2 separate regions of the Homo sapiens genome follow, and region 2 is linked to region 1. Evidence: promoter capture Hi-C in 16 types of primary human blood cells and fetal thymus (Javierre and others, 2016). All regions are on one chromosome and are shown on one strand. The core of a region is centred on a gene start or on the middle of the fragment in contact, and the rest is flanking DNA. Distances in the headings are between cores, read along the strand shown. Region 1 holds the start of TMEM67 (transmembrane protein 67). Region 2 has its middle 38 kb from the start of PDP1.

Region 1 (2,763 bases), core at 191-2,690:
CTCTTCTGCCTCTCCCTTCCTCCATGGCTCCAATTTAGACTCTAGATTTCTACCTTAGCCTCGCAAGTGGTCTCTAACTCTAAACGTTTCCATATTTTTGTCCAGGATTTTTTTTTTTTTTTATATAGGGTCTCTGACATCCAGGCTGGAGTGCAGTGGCACGATCATAGCTTATTGCAGCCTTTGGGCTCATTGACCTCCTGGGCTTAAGTGGTTCTCCCGCCTCAGCCTTCCAAGCAACCGGGACCATAGGCATGTGCCACCCACCCAGCTAATTAAAATAAATTTTATTTGTAGAGGTGGAGTCTCACTATGTTGCCCAGGCTGGTCTTGAATTCCTGGGCTCAGACAATCCTTCCACTGTGGCCTCCCAAAATGTTAGGATTAGAGGTGTGAGCCACAGCACCAGGCTTAGATTCCTTTATTCACAAAAGGTGTAAAGGTGATCTCATTTTATATACATGTCAACTAAAGAAAAAAATCAGGCTTTTAAAGACTCAAAGTTAGTTTTATTCGGAGTCTTACTGAGGAATGCAACCCTGGAGAGTCTTTCAAAGAGTTTATGTTATACTGGTCCAAAGCAGCTGTTCTGCCCCCAGTTTCTACATCAAGGGATGGAGTTCTGCATGTGCTCAAAAGTTACATTAAACGTGCTCAGAAGTTACGTTGGAGCAAAATCTCATCAAAGTTTTGTTTGGAGACTACATCTGGTTATAGATTACAGAGGCATAATCATTAATCCTGTCACACGTTATCTTACGTACAGGAAGAGGCAAGAGCTAGGATCGCTGACTGTATCTTTTTAAAAAATGAAGTGATTCAAGCAACAGATGTGAAAACTTGTGCTCTATCCTACTTATTGTCTTCAGGGCATTCTTCTGGAGGACTGCGTTCAGTCACTGAGTCAGGGGCTTTGTGAAATTTCGCTGGCAACAGAATGAGCAAACATGGTTTCTTCCGTTTCGTACTTTGTCTCGCATACATGATTTCCTATGCTCAAACCTGGCAGGAAAGTTTTTTTATTTTTTCAGTCTTTGAGCTATAGTAATCCTTCACTGGGTTTTAAGTCAGTGGGGTTTTTTGACATCAAATTGTTAAACTACAAGTCATGTTTCCTTTAACGTGAAAATTACCTAGTCTGAATAAATTCTGATGTAACTATAACTCGACAAATTATGATATTTTCAACTTACGATGGGTTTATTGCGGGGAGGGGGCAGCCCTATCGTAAGTAGAGGAACTCTATACACGTTTGAAAATATCGCTGGGCTCCAGGGTTAACCGGTCTCTAACCCATTCTTTACTGGACCTGCCAACTTCGCGCAGGGTTGGTAACCTAGCAACCAAGCAACACGAGCAGTGACTTCCGGTACCCGGACTTGGGTTGTCCAATCAGCTCAGCGAAGCCGCCGCAGAGGCTGATGGGGGGCTGGAGGCTGTGAGGCTTCCAGCGTCGGTACCATGGCGACGCGCGGTGGGGCTGGGGTGGCAATGGCGGTTTGGTCCCTCTTATCCGCCCGGGCCGTGACCGCGTTCCTTCTGTTGTTCCTCCCTCGCTTCTTACAGGCCCAGACCTTCTCTTTCCCTTTCCAGCAGCCGGAGAAGTGCGACAACAACCAGTACTTTGATATCTCCGCCCTCTCGTGTGTTCCTTGTGGAGCTAACCAGAGGCAAGATGCCCGAGGTAAGACGGTTTGCGGTGGGCCCTGGCAAAAGTAACACTCCCGCCTTGGTCGGCCCCTAGTCCCCGTAAATGGAGTTTCACCATGTTGATCAGGCTAGTCTCGAACTTCTGACCTCAGGTGATCCACCCGCCTCCGCCTCCCAAAGTGCTGGGATTACAGGCGTGAGCCACCGCGCCTGGCCCGAATACATGTATATTGTTTAGTGACGTAGAAATGTAAAATTTCCAGCAGCAGTTAAGTAGTTTAATAGTTTAGTTATACTTGCACTTAAAATGGTAGCAGCATAATACCAGCTGTGTGCCAGTGTAAGACCTCTACGTATAATAACTAATTTTGTACTCATACTAACCCTGTGAGGTAGGTACCAATTTTTTTTCTCCATTTTATTGTAGAGGAAGCCAAGGCAGAGAGTTTAGTAACTTGTTCAAGGTCATGCAACTGAGTAGGATTACTACGATTGGAACTCAAGAAGTGTATTTCTGGATTTGAACCCAGGCAGTACTGCCTCCAGAATCCTGCTGTTAATCACTATACTGCTTCTCAAGATCTTCAGACTTATTAAAAGTTTCACTATCTGGGAACTTTATTTTTATTTATCAAGGATAAAATTGGCTTTTTTTTTTTTTTTTTTTTTTTTAGGAACTTCATGTGTATGTCTACCAGGATTTCAGATGATCTCTAATAATGGAGGACCTGCTATTATTTGTAAAAAGTGCCCAGAAAACATGGTGCGCATAATTTATTTTAAAATAACTTACCTGTAAAAAGTAGTAAGTTAAATATCTTTATTTTTCAAAATATAATTTAATGTTTAATGTTTCCCCACAGACTTTAAAATTACTATGCTAATTTTATTTTTACTAGAGTAAGTTTTGGGAGATCAGCGAAATTTCATGCAAACTTGGAGAAAACAGAAATGTATTTCTTTTAAAATCTGAAATCCAAAAACCACAAAGCTGTAAAAATTTAAGTTTTTGTTTTTACTCGTAGAATAACTCGGTTATGAAGAAAATTAGATGAATAAGGCATATATAGAGCAGTCTGGGATGTGTGCAATTTGGGATGTGTATATTCTTTT
Region 2 (2,763 bases), core at 137-2,636, 200 kb after region 1:
GCTGGGACTAAAGGTGCCCCCCACCACACCCAGCTAATTTTTTTTTTTTTTTTTTGAAACAGAGTCTCGCTCTGTCACCCAGGCTAGAGTGCAGTGGCATGATCTTGGCTCACTGCAACCTCTGCCTCCCGGGTTCAAGCAATTCTCCTGCCTCAGCCTCCTGAGTATATGAGACTAAAGGCACATGCCACCACACCCAGCTAATTTTTTGTATTTTTTGTAGAGACGGGGTTTCACTGTGTTAGCCAGGATGGTCCCGATCTCCTGACCTTGTCATCGCCCTCCTCGGCCTCCCAAAGTGCTGGGATTACAGGCGTGAGCCACCATGCCCGGCTAATTTTTGTATTTTTACAAAATAACTCTTTTACACAGGGTTTCACCATGTTGGCCAGCCTGGTCTCAAACTCCTGACCTCAAATGATCCACTCACCTCAGCCTCCCAAAATGTTGGGATTACAGGCATGATCCACTGCACCCGTCGTAACTGCAGCATTTTTAAGATATGAGATATACATGCACATCTGGTTTATTTGCTATGTGATCTGTATCTCTCTTTTGACTGCTACTTTAAAACTCTTTTGGAATTAAGCCCTTAGGGTACAGCTTTATATTCCTTATTACTATATTCTTGGAAAACTGCTTTGCATACAAATGCTTAATTTTAAATGGGTGATAATAAGTACGATGTATTCTGCTACCGTAATATGTAGATTATGAAGAGGTTGGCACATGATTGGGCTGGGGTGGTAAAGAAAGTACTTGAAATAGTCAAAGGGAAAGATTTCATTTTTCTCAATTTAACCTGCTCACAGAAGGGCAATAAGAGCCTCATTATCTCATTTAGACAAGACTGATGGAGTCACAGCCTGCATGGTCCAGTCTCAGGATGGCTCATATTGGAAGAAGCACTGCTCAAACAGGCGTTTCAGTTTTACTCAGAGCTCTAAAAATTTGAAAGGCTCTAAGTCATAATTCACGGTTAATATTTAAATCCTCTGCCTTGGCTGGGTGTGGTGGCTCACACTTGTAATCCCAGCACTTTGGGAGGCTGAGGTAGGCGGATCACCTGAGGTTGGGAGTTCGAGACCAGCCTCACCAACATGGTGAAACCCTGTCTGTACTAAAAATATAAAAATTAGCCAGGCATGGTGGCGCATGCCTGTAATCCCAGCTACTTGGGAGGCTGAGGCAGGAGAATCGCTTGAACCCAGGAGGTGGAGGTTGCAGTAAGCCGAGATAGTGCCATTGCACTCCAGCCCGGGTGACAGAGTGAGACTCATCTCAAAAAAAAAAAAAAAAAATCCTCTGCTAGAAACACTTCTGCAGCGCCTTGTAAATGCCAGTGTCTTGCCCTCTCCCACCCTCTCACCTCTGCTTCTCCTTTGGCTGTGTCCTCTCTAGTGCATCTGATCTGACATGAACACCCCTTCCCTCCCTTCTCTTCCACGTTTCTGCAGTTAGCAGCGTAGGTAATGGAGGAAGAGCGCAACACCCAAGTGATTTTTGTCCAGATGTATTTCAGTCACATTAAATTTCTGAGGTTTCAGATTTTATCTTACTGTTTGTGTGTGGTGTGCGTGTTTAAAAATTAGAGTTTGTAAAAGAATTCTTGTAAAAGTGTGCTATGTTCCTAGCAAGTTATCTTCTTTCTACGGACAGTGGCTGTACTTTCCTCGCCAACGCCCCCTCATGCTGTTCCTCCTCCGCATGTGAGTTTGATCATTGCTGCATTATGGTTTTCTCTAGCACGTTTTTTGGTAATGCATCCCTTTTTGAGAAAGAGGCCAGCCCTTCACCTCCCATGTCCAGCTCCCCAACCTGGTCTACTGGCAGCAACACAAAGACCCTCATGGAGGCACGGGGACAGCTGCTTCCTGACTTTGTTGTGGCTGCTCCAGGGCTTGTTCTGAGGTCACTGACTTTGTGGTTTTTTGTTTGTTTGTTTTGAGACGGAATCTCGGAATCTCGCTCTGTCGCCCAGGCTGGAGTGCAGTGGTGTGATCTCCGCTCACTGCAATCTCCGCCTCCCAGGTTCAAGCAATTCTCCTGTCTCAGCTTCCCGAGTAGCTGGGATTACAGGCGTGCGCGACCACGCCTGGCTAATTTTTGTATTCTTTTTCTTTTTTTGAGATGGAGTCTTGCTCTGTCACCCAGGCTGAAGTGTAGTGGTGTTGTCTCGGCTCACTGCAACCTCCACTTCCCGGGTTCCAGTGATTCTCCTGCCTCAGGCTCCCAGGTAGCTGGGATTTCAGGCTTGCATGACCATGCCCAGATAATTTTTGTATTTTTAGTAGAGAGGGGGTTTCACCATGTTGGCTAGGCTGGTCTCAAACTCCTAACCTCAGGTGATCCACCCGCCTCAGCCTCCCAAAGTGCTGGGATTTCAGGTGTGAGCCACCATGTCCAGCTGAGGTCACTGACTTTGAACATGGGGTGTCCTTTCTTTATATGTTGGTTTCTGTCTGGCACAGAGTAGGAACACAGTAAAGATGATCTGGCTCTGCATTTGTAGCCCGGAGGCAAAATTGCCATCCTTTTCTTTGTTGTATCAACAGCTCTCTTACAATGGCCGGGAAAGTAAGGAAGATGAAAGCTGCTTACTGTCACACAAGTTGGGTACAAAATTCCTATTTGGTCACTTTGGGAGGGAGTTCAAACCAAGTTCTCTGAGTCTGCTAACTTTGTTCTAAACCCAGTCTATTCTCCATTCAGGGTCACATTTGCCTCTGTCCCGAAGAGTAAGTCTGCCACCCTCTTGGCTCA

The links. The method cuts DNA at HindIII sites, captures the fragments that hold promoters and counts their contacts. A CHiCAGO score of 5 or more calls a contact.
Region 2: a contact is called between a fragment that was not itself captured here and the fragment with the promoter of TMEM67 in region 1, in 1 of 17 cell types (total B cells). The highest score is 5.2, in total B cells.

The regions. Positions count from the first base shown.
Region 1 is chr8:93,753,454-93,756,216 of GRCh38, forward strand. TMEM67 (transmembrane protein 67) reads left to right here and starts at 1,441. Exons shown (of 28, transcript NM_153704.6): 1 at 1,441-1,684; 2 at 2,325-2,413. The coding sequence starts at 1,462. The HindIII fragment of the contact is 4,875 bases long and covers 1-2,763 here.
Region 2 is chr8:93,953,863-93,956,625 of GRCh38, forward strand. No RefSeq gene overlaps it. Among named protein-coding and RNA genes, the nearest start is that of PDP1, 38 kb to the left of the region's middle. The HindIII fragment of the contact is 5,212 bases long and covers 1-2,763 here.